Linked DNA regions of Homo sapiens: regions 2, 3 and 4 are each linked to region 1. The links are contacts of gene promoters, found by promoter capture Hi-C in blood cells and fetal thymus (Javierre and others, 2016). All regions are on one chromosome and are shown on one strand. The core of a region is centred on a gene start or on the middle of the fragment in contact, and the rest is flanking DNA. Distances in the headings are between cores, read along the strand shown. Region 1 holds the start of DANCR (differentiation antagonizing non-protein coding RNA). Region 2 has its middle 17 kb from the start of GSX2. Region 3 overlaps CHIC2 (cysteine rich hydrophobic domain 2). Region 4 has its middle 5.8 kb from the start of GSX2.

Region 1 (3,610 bases), core at 1,068-3,567:
CTAGCCTGAGTGATAGAGTAAGACCCTGTCAAAGGGAAAAGAAAGGGAGAGGGAGAGAGACGAGAGAGAGAGCAAGAAAGAGAGAGAGAGAGAAAAGAAAAGGAAGGAAGGGAGGGAGGGAGGGAAAGAAAAGAAAGAAAGAAAAGAAAGAAAGAAGGATTGATTAGACATACTAATTTCTCTAAAAAAATTAGGCCTAATAATAAACCCAATTGAAACAATTCTCTTTAAACTGCATTATAAGGATTTTTAGTACCAAATATATATTATCTTGAACCTAACTCAAAAGCAATTATAAATCAGTTTATTTTGTTCTATTGTCTCTGTATTTAATAGACATTTCTCCTCTAAGCCCAGTGAACAGTTTTACTATTTCGAATGAACTGTTTGTAAGTTCATTGAATTGAGGTATTTGGCCAGAAATGTGAAGCCTTCAGATTAAGGTGAATTTCTCTTAAATCAAACACAAATATAATTCTTTCATAATTCCTTCCCATTTTTATCCCCTGATTTGGGGAGGAGGGAAGACATTCTGCACAACTACCCCCAGCCCCTGCTAGGTTGCTGCTGAATTCCTGCATTAGTCTCTTTACTAAGGAGATTTACTTCTCTTTTCCTATATTTTCCCATGTTGCCTGACCACATGCATTGCCATAGTTAAAGGAAAGGTAATATCTCTCAGCTATCCAAAGGGACTATAAAAAGAACAGATTCCAACTAGAGATATGTTTGGAAGACTCTTGAGAAAGGTGAAGGGACAACAAACTGGTATTCACTCTCCAATTTCAACAAGATCCTATGAATATCTGCAAGATGATGACTAGGTGCTAGGGTTTATTGGTAAATTTTACTCAACTTCTTCTTCCCACCAAAACCACCTTAATCACACCCGAAACCACACCCTACATCAGATCCTATCATTCCCCTGTTAAAACACACACACACACACACAACAAACAAACAAAACACTTGAACAGCTTTCCATCATTCTTAGCACAAAGTATAAACTCTTTCACAAATACAAAAATTAACCAGGCATGGTGGTGCATGCCTGTAATCCCAACTACCCGGGAGGCCGAGACGAGAATAGTTTGAACTTGGGAGGTGGAGGCTGCAGTGAGCCAAGATCGTGCCACTATACTCCAGTCTGGGCAACAGAGCGAGACTCCATCTCAAAAACAAAACAAAACAAAAAAACTCTTCCAGGGTTTCCTGCATGGTCTGGCCCCAAGCCATTCTCATCTCAGGCCACTCTGCTCCTTAAGTTCCATTTCTGGGAGTCCTTAAACAGGTAAAGCCCTTTCCTGTTTTATCTTGGGGCTCTGGACGAGTTGTTCTTTCTGTTTACAAAGCCACACCCCACCAGAGCTGCCTGTCTTGATCTGTTAACCAAGTGTAGGCTATTTTTTGGTTTCCCTTCCTGCTCCACCCCCAACACCTGGGGAAAGGCTAGGTAGCATGTTGTTTGAGGGGCTCTGCCTTCAGGCTGCTTGAGTTCAAATCCTGGATCTACCACTGGCTAGCTGCTCTGTGACTTTGGGCAAGTTACATAACATAATTATTTCCCCATCTATAATTTGGAGATGATTAAATATATTTTGAGGATTAGATTTGTTAGCAGATGGTAAGTACGTGAAACAGCAATAGAAGTTCTCCTTTTAGCATATACTCCAATTTTCTTCTACTTATTTGTTTGCCAAGTTTGAGCCTGTTACCTTGAGATTGCTATGGTTGCCTTCTCAACCTCCCCAACTCCTACCCTCCAGCTGATTATGGTCTACTTATTGGACTCTGTAAATGAATAAAGAGGGAGCATGAGGAAAGGAGGTAGTCCTTCTAGCTTTAGGAGAGGCCACGGGAGTGAGCTTGTTGAACAAGACATGGTCGTGGCTTCTCTTTAAGCTTACGGTTTAGGCGGACACAGATGATGAACACACACCGGATTAGTGTGGCTTTAAGAAAGGGAATCCCAGGGCCTTAGGCCAACCCTGGAGTAACCTCGATGCCCTCTCCAGAAGGGCACCCGAGGAAGGGTCTAGGGCCCAAGAGCACCAAAATCACCAACGCCGGGGATTGGTAGGTAGCCTGAAAAATCTAATTCAGAGAAGGATGCTCCGCGCGCAGACATGGCTTATCCCCGTGCTACTGCATGAGCCACACCTAGGCCGGCCCCGGACACCGACAGCCAATGGCCGGGCCCGTCCCGCCCCATCCGGGATTGGCTGTGCGTGCCGCGGCCCTCCACCCCGCCCCGCTCAGGATCTTCCCGGGATTGGCTGAGCTACCCGACCTCTCCAGGGGATCGGCTGCGCGCCCCGCCCTTGCCCAGAGTCTTCCCGGGATTGGCTGCGGGCCTCGCGACCCTCCTGCTTCCCTCCCCGCCCCGCGCCGCCTCTCTGGTTTGTGCGCCCGTCGCAGGTCGCAGGCCTCTTTGTCAGCTGGAGTTGCGCGGTGAGTGCATCTCCAGTCTTCGGCTTTCGGTCTCCCGCGGGGAGGGCGCCCGGCCGGCCCGTGGGTCCGATCAGGGGCTGGGCTCGCCCGGTGTCCCCACGAGCTTTGCCCGCCTCGAGCTCCTCTGCTCCCGGCGGCCAGAACGGAGGGGTAGAGCAGCCCTCGGCGGCCCGGGGGGCGGGCGGCGGTGCCCGTCCCGGGGCTGCGCGAGGCACAGGCGCCGCGCCCAGCGGAACAGCCGGAGGTTCCCGGCGCAGGTCTGGGCACCGTAACAATTTTGCGCTTTGCTTCCCCAGGGCTGACGCGCCACTATGTAGCGGGTTTCGGGCGGGCCACGCGTGCGGGACAGGAACCCAACCCCAGCCGACCTTGAGCTCCAGGAGTTCGTCTCTTACGTCTGCGGAAGTGCAGCTGCCTCAGTTCTTAGCGCAGGTATGTTCCTAGCCTTGAGCGGGGTGGGGGAAGGAATGAGTCAGCCTGGAGCACGTGGCCAGTGGGACCGGAGGGTTCCCCGGCGTCTGTTTGTCGCCAAGGTCCGAATCCGGCTCCCCTTAACTGGAAGGAAACATCCATGTAGGGGCTCACCAAACAAAACAGCTGTGTTTCTAGTGTGGTTTCAGACTTAGAGAAGCAGAGATCCACGAGGTATTGAGAGCAACGCGGAAAATAGTAGTGAACCCTGTAAAAATCAAAGAAAAAAAATCACAAAGCACCCTTTCCTGTGCCCTTTTAAGGTTGACCCAGTGCTTTAAGAGGCTAACACAGAAGGGTAAAGTAAGTCTCCATAAAACCCAGAGAAGAGACTGGAAAGCTCCTCTTTGGATCCTGTCTGGAGTCACAACTGAACCAGAAAAAGTTTCGTTACAACTTGAGCGCCTTTGTGATTTTCTTTACAGTTTATAGAACAAGCAATACATTTCAGTTTTCTTTGGTTAAAACGTCATTTTAAAACTTTTCTTTCTATAGGTTGACAACTACAGGCACAAGCCATTGAAGCTGGAATGTCCTGTTGCTGGTATTTCAATTGACTTAAGCCAACTATCCCTTCAGTTACAATAGGAAAGTGCCTCTAATAAGGCCAAATATGCGTACTAACTTGTAGCAACCACGTGTCCGTGCAGTGCCACAGGAGCTAGAGCAGTGACAATGCTGGTGGCAA
Region 2 (3,554 bases), core at 640-3,139, 1.4 Mb after region 1:
TCACAATGTGTGTGTGTATATATATATATATATATATATATATATATATATATATATATAAAATCATCACACATATACCTTAAATATATACAATTTTTATTTGTCAATTAAATATATACAAATTTTATTTGATTAATATCTCAAAAAGCTGGGGAAAAAAAAGACTTAGGTCTGAATCCAGATTCCACTGCCTATAAATTAAGACCTTGGGCAAATTAGTCCTTTATTTGTTTCTTTTCTTTTTTCAGAGACAGGGTCTCACTATGTTACCCAGGCTGGCCTTGAACTCCTGAGCTGAAGGGATCCTCCTGCCTTAGCCTCCCAAGTAGCTAGGACTACAGGCACACACCACTGTGCCTGGCTTCAAATTACTTCTTTGAATCTTTGTTTTCTAGTCTATAAGATGGGCATGATACCCTTCTTAATCTTTATTGTGATAGTTAAATGTAATAACATTACAAAATGCTTAGTAGAGTGTCTGGCATGGCAGACACTTGATGAATGATACTTATTATCGCTATTATTCTCATCATCTAAGATACTTCAATTTGATGTAGTCAAATATTCTATTCTACTTATCTACCTCTCTAAGTGAGGGCTACTCTGTAACATACTGCTATGGAAAGATCAGGAATCTGCCCTAGACATGTATAAATAAGTACTTTATGCCCAAATGAGTATAAATTTTACCTCTGGTATAATTTCTATGGGGAGATAAAACTTTAATTGCCATATAGGAAACCACTGGTGAATTTGGGATGATTTGATGTGCTTGTTTTGGGTTGCTTGTTGCTGTTGTTGTTGTTGTTGTTGTTTTTAGAGATGAGGTCTCACTATGTTGCCCAAGATGGTCTCGAACTCCTGGTCTTAAGTGAGCCTCCTGCCTTGCCCTCCCAAAGTGCTGGGATTATAGGTGTGAGCCATAGCACCCAGCCTAAGTTTTTACCATTGGGAAGCAAATGTTTTGTGGAGAAGCCATAGTTTTGAATAGCAATTTAAAGATGAAAAATAGATGATAGAGGTGGAGAAAGGTGTCAATGGGAAACCCCACATATGGTAAGATAACTATGTGTGCCATGGACCACAAACAGGCTAGCCTGGTCGAAGCAAAAAGGTTGATCCCGAACATAATGGGATGAGGGCATTAGATAGGTAAGGAAGTGACTGATGGAAAATCAAGAGTGATAGCTGATGATGAATGGTGATACTGTATATGATTTTGTGCATTGATATACCATTTTTCCTTTCTTTTTCCATCTACATGGATCTCAAAAATGAGCAATCTTCTCTCTGGAGGTGGATAAGACAGAACATTTTGCAAGCCCTTTAAGTCCTTCAGGAAACACAAACATCCTGTGATCTGTCACTCAGGATTCTGACTCAGACTGGGAATCTGAGCAATGCTCATGGCAATAAGCCAGGACCAGGCCCTAAACATCTGGCTGCTCCACTGTATGGATCTTTGGCATGTTAAATGTCAACAGACCTTGTGGATATAAAGTTGACTCAGTCAGAAAACATCTACGGTCTACATGGAAAAGAAAGTCTTTTGGAAAGAAAAGAAGGCAGGGTGTCTGAACCCTCCATCAGGATTTCCCTACTCCACTCTATTTCTATTAGATGAGAGGGATGAGGAAAGAGTACTCAGCCACCTTTTCAAGTCATCTGGTGGTCAGGGCTATTTGTAACTCTAATCTCATATTCATACCAGTCGTTTCTAAATCCAATCCCATATTTACACCAACCTGTCTTACAACCTTAATTTGGTTTCCCAGGTGTATTCCAGTTCCACTGTCAAATAGTAAGTACTGGATTATCCCTAGATAGACTCACCAAAAGATTATACAAGTCCTTAGAGGAGGGAAGTGAGACTGTAGAAGAGACTCAGCATCCAACAAATATATCACATAATATATTCAAACTACTCTAAGTACTACACCAAAACAATGACTTTCCTGACCACCATCCTAACCATGACACCAACCCTGGGTAATTTCATCTCATCATATTGCTTCAAATATTATATATGCTTTAAATAATATAGGCTGATGCCATTTTTATTTCTACTCTCACTTTCTTTTTTCTTTCTTTCTTTTTTTTTTTTTTTTTTTTTTTTTGAGACTGAGTCTTGCTCTATTGCCCAGGCTGGAGTGATCTCGGCTCACTGCAACCTCTGCCTCCCGGGTTTAAGCGATTCTCCTGCCTCAGCCAGCCAAGTAGCTGGGATTACAGGGATGTGCCACCTCACCCAGCTAATTTTGTATTTTTAGTAGAGACGGGGTTTCACTATGTTGGTCAGGCTGGTCTCGAACTCCTGACCTCAGGTGATCCACCCACCTCAGCCTCCCAAAGTGCTGGGATTACAGGCATGAGCCACCACGCCCAACTCCAATCTCAATTTCTGTTAAATTCAGATCCATATTTCCAACTGCTACTCTACATCAAAAATTTCCTCTTGGCTATTCTTATAGCACTTAAAACTCAAAATGTTTACAACCAATTTATCTTTTTTCTGTTCCATTCACTCTATCTACAGTCTCATCTGAAACAACAAAAAACTGCTTATCTTTCATCTGTAACCACTATATTTGTTAACACAATCATATTCAATACAGACACCTGAGCTAGAAACCCAAGTCCCCACTGACCCATTTGTCTTTCTGTACCCCTGTCCTATCTAATTAGTAACCAAGGCTCATTGGTGCTACCTTCCAAATTACTCTTGAATTTATTCTCTCCTCTCCATTCCCACCACTACTGATTAATGTGACACTTATCATTTCAAGTCTGGACTTTGGTACTGGACACTAACTGTCTCTGGTTTCTCTCTCTTCCAATCCCATCCTTTACAATGATTACAATATAATCATTTCAATTTTCTGCTTAGCATCCTTCAAAGACCATTCATCTTACTACAGAGGCCTTCATACTTCTTCACCTGCCACTCACACTCTTTGCTTTCTGCCACTAAGCAGCCCTTCCTGCTTCTGTCTCCTGCATGCAGCTTAATGCATATCCATCCTCTGGGCCTGTGCTCACTCTTGAAACTTTGGCCTAGAAGTCTCTTCTCCTGCTGTTGTTTTTACTCTGAGCATCTCCTAGAAATAGTTCAAGCCTCAGTCTCAGAGTCCATGATGCCAGCAGGAAGAAAGAACAGATCTCTCCTCCATGGTTCCACAGTTGTTGCATGCCACTATCACACACTTACTTGAATTCATTGATGGCTATGGTTAGGTGAGCCACTGTGCCCAGCCCGGGGTCTAGTCATCTTTGTAGCCCTAGTACCTAACATATGTAGGCACTCAGTAAATAATGGTGAATTAAACTAAATTGAATTTTAATAGCAACTGTCTCCTATTTCCAGAAGTTCCTCTAACAATATGATGCAGGCCTTATATTTAAAAGTAGCCATTATTCTGATAAGTTTTATATTTTGTTGACAGCTAAGTACACTAAGAGTCCTGTCTGGATAAGGGTCATTCTTTGGCCAATTTAAATGGAATTGTGATTATATTAGGCCCATATTGTTTGGAATCTAACTAACTTGTCTGATC
Region 3 (3,273 bases), core at 193-2,692, 1.3 Mb after region 1:
ACACCAGTTAGAATGGCGATCATTAAAAAGTCAGGAAACAACAGGTGCTGGAGAGGATGTGGAGAAATAGGAACACTTTTACACTGTTGGTGGGACTATAAACCAGTTCAACCATTGTGGAAGTCAGTGTGGCGATTCCTCAGGGATCTAGAACTTGAAATACCATTTGACCCAGCAATCCCATTACTGGGTATATACCCAAAGGATTATAAATCATGCTGCTATAAAGACACATGCACACGTATGGTTATTGCAGCACTATTCACAATAGCAAAGACTTGGAACCAACCCAAATGTCCAACAATGGTAGACTGGATTAAGAAAATGTGGCACATATACACCATGGAATACTATGCAGCCATAAAAAAGGATGAGTTCATGTCCTTTGTAAGGACATGGATGAAGCTGGAAACCATCATTCTCAGCAAACTATCGCAAGGACAAAAAACCAAACACCGCATATTCTCACTCATAGGTGGGAATTGAACAATGAGAACACATGGACACAGGAAGGGGAACACCACACACCGGGGACTGTTGTGGGGTGGGGGGAGGGGGGAGGGATAGCATTAGGAGATATACCTAATGTTAAATGACGAGTTAATGGGTGCAGCACACCAACATGGCACATGTATACATATGTAACTAACCTGCACGTTGTGCACATGTACCCTAGAATTTAACGTATAATAATTAAAAAAAAGAAACCCTGTCTCTATTTTTTTAAATACATTTTTAAAAAATAAAATTTATTTATTTAAAAAAATTTTTTTAAAGTATCATTTTTATACATATAAATACAATTTTTGAAAATTTTAACAAGAATATAATACATTCAATCTATAATAATTTGTCATATCTCTACCAACATCTTAAAATTTTGTTTATTTGTTTGTTGAGACAGAGTTTCACTATTGTTGCCCAGGCTGGAGTGCAATGGCACGATCTCAGCTCACTGCAACCTTCGCCCTCCAGGTTCAAGCGATTCTCCTGCCTCAGCCTCCTGACTAACTGGGATTACAGGCACCCGCCACCACGCCTGGCTAATTTTTTGTATTTTTAGTAGAGACAGGGTTTTACCATGTACGCCAGACTGGTCTTGAACTTCTGACCTCAAGTGATCCGCCCGCCTTGGCCTCCCAAAGTGTTAAAATTGCAGGCATGAGCCACTGTGCCTGGCCAGAATTTTTTATTATAAGCAGTCAAAATAATGAGTCTTTGAAATTATTTTTTCTGATTACAGAATCACTTTGTGCTCACTACAGGAAACTTGTAAAATATAAAAAGCAGAAAAGAATGTCCCATAATCTTACCAACAAGAAACAACCATTGTAACCATTTTATTTCTTGTATGGGTACCATCTTACAGTCAGTAAGAATACTATTAATTAATACTTATTAACCACTTCCTTTGAGATATTCAGCTAAGAGTTTTCCAAACATTTTCATTTTACCTTTATATTCAAGTAGTAGGTGAACATTTTACAGTTGTGTCAAGTAGGGTTTAAAGAGGTTAGGAAACGTGCCTAAGGTCACAGAGAAAAGTGGTAGAGCTGAAGCCAGCATCCTTGATCACTATACCACACCACTGTCAATGTACAGATACAGACAATGCCATACACTACTCCTTGCTTCTAAAATTATAAATATAATTTTTAGATGGCTATTTAATAACAGCACTTGGATATATAGTAACTTTACTGACTCACTCCTCTCCTGGATCAGATTATTTTCATATTTTATTCAGGATAGTGTGATTCATTCAATACAAAAAATAAAAACTAGATAAATGCAAGACTTGCTTGTCCACTTCTAAATTTAAATTAAAATATATAATTCAACTTACTCTTTTACTGAGGCAAATAACTGGCCACATACTGCAACCTAATGTGCAGCAGCAACAAAGGCAGCCACAAAGTAGCCAACGTACATTAACAGGAAGGTTCTTCTTAAGACAACTGTTAACTCTGTTGATGCTGGCTTTAAATTCTTCAGGAGCTACCTAAAGAAAAATTTTAAGAAATAATAACAATGCAATATTAATGTCAAAAAACATGACTGATGAGCATACTTTTTTCTAATTTTCTCAGAAAAAAACTTTCATTTTGAGGCATACAAATAGTACATAAATGAGACACTCACTTTTCCAGTTAATGAAGAAGGGAATTCAGATTCAAATTTGTTGCTCAGTCCAAATCTATTTTAAAAAATAAGAAGAATATGTTATTACATGTTATTGTTGCCAAAAATGTAGACCATTTAATTTAAAGGTCAAGTCAATAGAAAGCATTTTCACATATGGAGGAAGTTTTAGACATAAAATGGAAGTTTGAGATAAAATAACTGTAACAAGCAATTTATGAAATGTAACAATTATTTTAGCAGTTAAATGGAAACTTTTGCATAATGATAAGGGGCTGAATGTTAATTAACCAGCAGTATGTAAACAAAAATATAAATGGTTCATTTAATTTGAGCTACCAACTTTATATCTTAAAAAGTAACTACAAAGCATATTATTTTAATGGGTGGGATAGCGATTTTTTCCAGCTTTTAATGTTATTGGTGGAAACAAACAATACCTGTGAATTTTAGCAGGTGTCCTACACAAGCAATAAGATGAGAAGGAAAAATGCAGGAAAAAGAGTGAGGAGGGGAAGAATAAGGAAAAAGGGAGAGAAAAAATAAAAAAGTAGGAATGGACAAAGTGCTACCAAGAACCGTCTTAGGTTCCATTGAACACCTATTTGTCAGTGCATTAGATGGTATGAAAGAAAATGTAGACGTGTACTATACCTATATCTATTCCTATTACCTAAAAGACCTTTTCTTGAATCATGGTTAAAATATTCCATGGCTTTAGAATTGATAAAAGATTTAAACTATTTTCAAAGAATGGTAAATATAACAAGAAGATAAAAGACATAATAAAAACAACCTATCTTGCTTTTATCTATCAGAAGTCTACCAGTACTTGGAGAACAGAGAATTCATTCAAATCACAACTACTGAGCACATTCCATGCAACACTTCAGTGCAGGCTTTTATGGCTTTTACAGCTTCCTTTGTTTCCTTAAGAAATCACACACGAGACCAATTTTACTTTTATATAATTTGAGATAATTTTGAAAGTTCATGTAATACACTGTAAAGTTTTGAAGGGGGGACTCCAACTTTACACCTAAATCTAAATGGAATCTTGAAACAGGCTTGTTTTACTCATATCCCACATACATCCATTTCACTATCTCTACATTCCTCCAGTCTATAGTC
Region 4 (3,207 bases), core at 688-3,187, 1.4 Mb after region 1:
CCTGTTTAGATGGTTTGGATCTGCTTGGATGGCCCCAGCCCCTCTTGCTTCGATCTTTGGGGAAGTTCCCTAGGGAAAGGAGAATAAACAAAGTATTTCTGCCCAGAGGCAAAAAAAAAAAAAAAAAAAAAAAAAAAAAAGCGTAGCGATACCTATTTAGATGTTGGGACACTCTCCATAGAAGAAAAGGTTCTCCAGGGTTCCCAGGGAGGTCTTCCTTCTAGGACATCCGATGCAAAGTGGACTCCTTTGGTCACTTTCAGAATGGAGTATGAGGTCTCCTACTATGCTAGAATAAGTTTTACATGTTTCCCTATCCCCACTCCTCAAAAAATATCAGTTGATGTTTTTGAAGTTTTCAAATCGGAATAATGCTTTGGTATTTTGGAGTCGGTCTGATTCTAAAGACCAACAGTTTCACTTTAGTTTAAGAGCATTTAAGCCAACCCTCAGAAACTCACATTCTCAGCTAAATAATCTTGATATCAAACACCCATTTAAGAGGAAAGTTTAAGATGTATGGGGTCACCCTTGACAATTTCTCTACCTGGGAAGCACTAGATACTAGTTTCCATTATGCCCCAATTGAAAAACAGAAACAGAACTATGTTCCCCCAGAGCATGACCTCTTAGAGAGGTCATGGAAAGAAAGAAAGAATGGAAAGAAAGAGAATGAAAATGAGAATGAGAATTAGAAAACAGGAACTTGCTCCACCAAGAGAAAATCAGTGGGTAGCACCCGCTGTGAGTGTGGTTGAGTCCATCTTTTTGAGAACAAGTCTCATGTTAGTTTTAAACAGGAAAAGAGCTGGGGGTGGAAGGCAGAGTGGAGAGCAGGAAGGATGACCTCTCACCCATGTGCCCTGGCCCAGCCCAGACATTCAGAGCATAGAGGAGGAACAGAGACTTTTCCCCTTCACTCTCCCACTCAGCCACCAACAAATGCCTAAGGCCAAGGGCCTGATACTGATAGCAAACTAGGCCAAAAGCAAAAGTGACCCAGTAGCCCATCCTTAGGGTGTCAGTGGGCCTGCATGATGGAGACACTGGTGCCCATAGACCTCTTTTCCTCTAGGGTCCTTATTCTGAAGTGGTCATCATAGCTCAGTCCCTTCCCCACTCCCCTAAAGAATATCTAATAATTTTAGGAGAGACAAAACACTTGGGGATGTGAAGTCTTTGATTTCTGACCTCCGCCTCCGTCTCCTCATTGCCAACCACCACCCCGCTAACCCACAACGCCCCACCAGTTCTGTCCAGTTATATCTGGTCAGGATTAGAAATGCAGTTTGCTTGGCACACTCTAACTGTGGTCAGACAATTGCCAGAAAGGTGGTGGTTCTAACTAAAAGCAGTCACAGAGGGCAACAGGGGCTTTGTATGTACATGTGTGTAGTGTGTGCATGCATGAGGCACATGTGTGTGTGAAAGAGACAGAGAGGGTCCTTTGATGGTGGTGATGTAGGTGGAAAAGAGTAATTTTTAACCAGGTTTTCTTTTTCTTTTTGTTTCCCACTTATACCTTTCCTGCAGGTTCCACTCGCTTTTAATGGCACTCCTTGAGAGATTTCTTTGAGGGAGATGGGGAGGTGCTCAGTGTTGGGTTGTGGGGAGGAAAAACAGTCTGAACATGGAGGGGAGACATGGAGAAGAGCTCTGGGGCATGATCTCAAGCCCAGCCTTACGGGTGTGAGAGAGGGGAGGAGAATGACACTCCAATAGAACCTATTTGCTAGAGGAAATCAAGTTTAAAGGAGCAATCACTCCTTTCAAAAGAGCTCCTCCCATCTTCTCCAAACACAGCCCAAAGCTGTCCTAGACGATGAATGCAGTTCAGTGCATCAAAGCAATTGTTCCTATTTTCATTATTCACAGGAAATCTTTGAATGTACCTGTTAAGGTGACAGACCTTTTAAAAGGGAACATTTTTTTCCATGCAATTAAATGGTGCATTTACTAGGCGTCTATTAACATAATTTAATATAAATCTATTTTATAAATCTTTAGGCTCACATTACTGAAAATTGAGCTTCTCTTAAAAAATGCCCACATCTCTTCCCTAAACTACATAGAATAGAACCCAAAAACTTGCTATTCTAAGCCAGCTAGAAATATTAAAAGTAATAGAATCCTTTGTATTGTCTTTTGTTAATGGTGGGGGTATGAAGAAAAGGGGCAACTTGTCTCATAGAAATTCTATAAGGACCCGAGGCTTCTACATCCAACATCTGGCACTTGGAGTGGGCAACACAGGCTGGAACTAAGGGAGGGGCCAAAGAAGCACAGAACTTAAGACATCTCTTAGAATCAGACTTGAATCAGAACTCAGATTAAAAAAAAAAAAAAACTAAAAAAAAAGAAAGTCAGCAAAACTCCAACTTGCAAAGAAATTTGGATTCCAGTTTCTTCTGTTTGGGGAAAAAAATTCTGAGGCCTGTGAGACCTCTAGTGCTGCTCCATGTGGCAATAGATAACCTTGTCTGTTGCCATAGCCAGACTACTTATTCTCAAGTGTACCCTCCAAAATCCTGGGCATCCCATTGTCTCTGAAAATAGTGTTTTGTGCTCTCTTAATATACTGATGTCAATGCCGCCCTTCGGTACTGGACACTGCTTTTCTTCAAGCTGAGCCCTATGTTTTCCTGAACCCTTGCTGTATCTTTGTTGAGCCTTCTAAATCCCAAACCCAGGAAGGCCCCAGGGGCTCCCCTGAGTGAATCCTAACAGATCGGAAGTGTATGCTGTGTGCTTAGGAAAGTAACTAGTTTCAGATTAATGAAGCAGTGACAATTTCAATCTGCTTAAAGGCGGAGGTTGGCACTGCCCAGGCCTGAGCGTGGGGAGCTCGCCAGGCTGGGCTTTATATTGTCCCCTTTTCTGAAGAGCAGACAAAGATGGATAGAGAGACATTGAAAAGCAAGGGGAGTATTTCAAACAGTCTCATAAAGCAGGCTGTCACTTTAAGACAAGAACCATAGTGCTTTGATGACTTTGTATTAGCTGCACCATTTCAAATAGGGGACTCAAGTCTCTAGTGAGAGGGAGGCAAGGGGAGAGAGGAGAGAGAAGACAAGAGAGAGAGAGAGAGAGAGAGAGAGAGAGAGAGAGAGAGAGAGAGAATGTAGTAATATTTAGCCTGTGAGCACTGTGGCGAAAGTAATTCTAGGCAACTACTTGGTTTCTGAAGTTCAAGGAGAAACCACCCAC

What was found. Contacts are between HindIII fragments. The CHiCAGO score rates a contact against its expected background, and 5 or more counts as called.
Region 2: a fragment that was not itself captured here is called in contact with the fragment with the promoter of DANCR in region 1 in 1 of 17 cell types (naive CD8 T cells); the score reaches 5.1 in naive CD8 T cells.
Region 3: a contact is called between a fragment that was not itself captured here and the fragment with the promoter of DANCR in region 1, in 2 of 17 cell types (activated CD4 T cells and non-activated CD4 T cells). The highest score is 6.5, in activated CD4 T cells.
Region 4: a fragment that was not itself captured here is called in contact with the fragment with the promoter of DANCR in region 1 in 1 of 17 cell types (activated CD4 T cells); the score reaches 5.7 in activated CD4 T cells.

What each region holds. Positions count from the first base shown.
Region 1 is chr4:52,710,077-52,713,686 of GRCh38, forward strand. DANCR (differentiation antagonizing non-protein coding RNA) reads left to right here and starts at 2,318. Exons shown (of 5, transcript NR_145129.1): 1 at 2,318-2,451; 2 at 2,748-2,883; 3 at 3,418-3,466. MIR4449 (microRNA 4449) reads left to right here and starts at 2,606; the gene lies at 2,606-2,671. It overlaps SNORA26 (small nucleolar RNA, H/ACA box 26), which reads left to right and starts at 3,173; the gene lies at 3,173-3,294. RefSeq lists silencers at 2,124-2,957, 2,132-2,701 and an enhancer at 2,952-3,001. The HindIII fragment of the contact is 6,853 bases long and covers 1,901-3,610 here.
Region 2 is chr4:54,080,927-54,084,480 of GRCh38, forward strand. It overlaps a transcript of CHIC2 not described here. Among named protein-coding and RNA genes, the nearest start is that of GSX2, 17 kb to the right of the region's middle. The HindIII fragment of the contact is 6,758 bases long and covers 1-3,554 here.
Region 3 is chr4:54,047,109-54,050,381 of GRCh38, forward strand. CHIC2 (cysteine rich hydrophobic domain 2) reads right to left here. Exons shown (of 6, transcript NM_012110.4): 2 at 2,143-2,197; 3 at 1,847-2,002. Among named protein-coding and RNA genes, the nearest start is that of CHIC2, 16 kb to the right of the region's middle. The HindIII fragment of the contact is 6,225 bases long and covers 1-3,273 here.
Region 4 is chr4:54,104,346-54,107,552 of GRCh38, forward strand. No RefSeq gene overlaps it. Among named protein-coding and RNA genes, the nearest start is that of GSX2, 5.8 kb to the left of the region's middle. RefSeq lists an enhancer at 1-416. The HindIII fragment of the contact is 4,357 bases long and covers 1-3,207 here.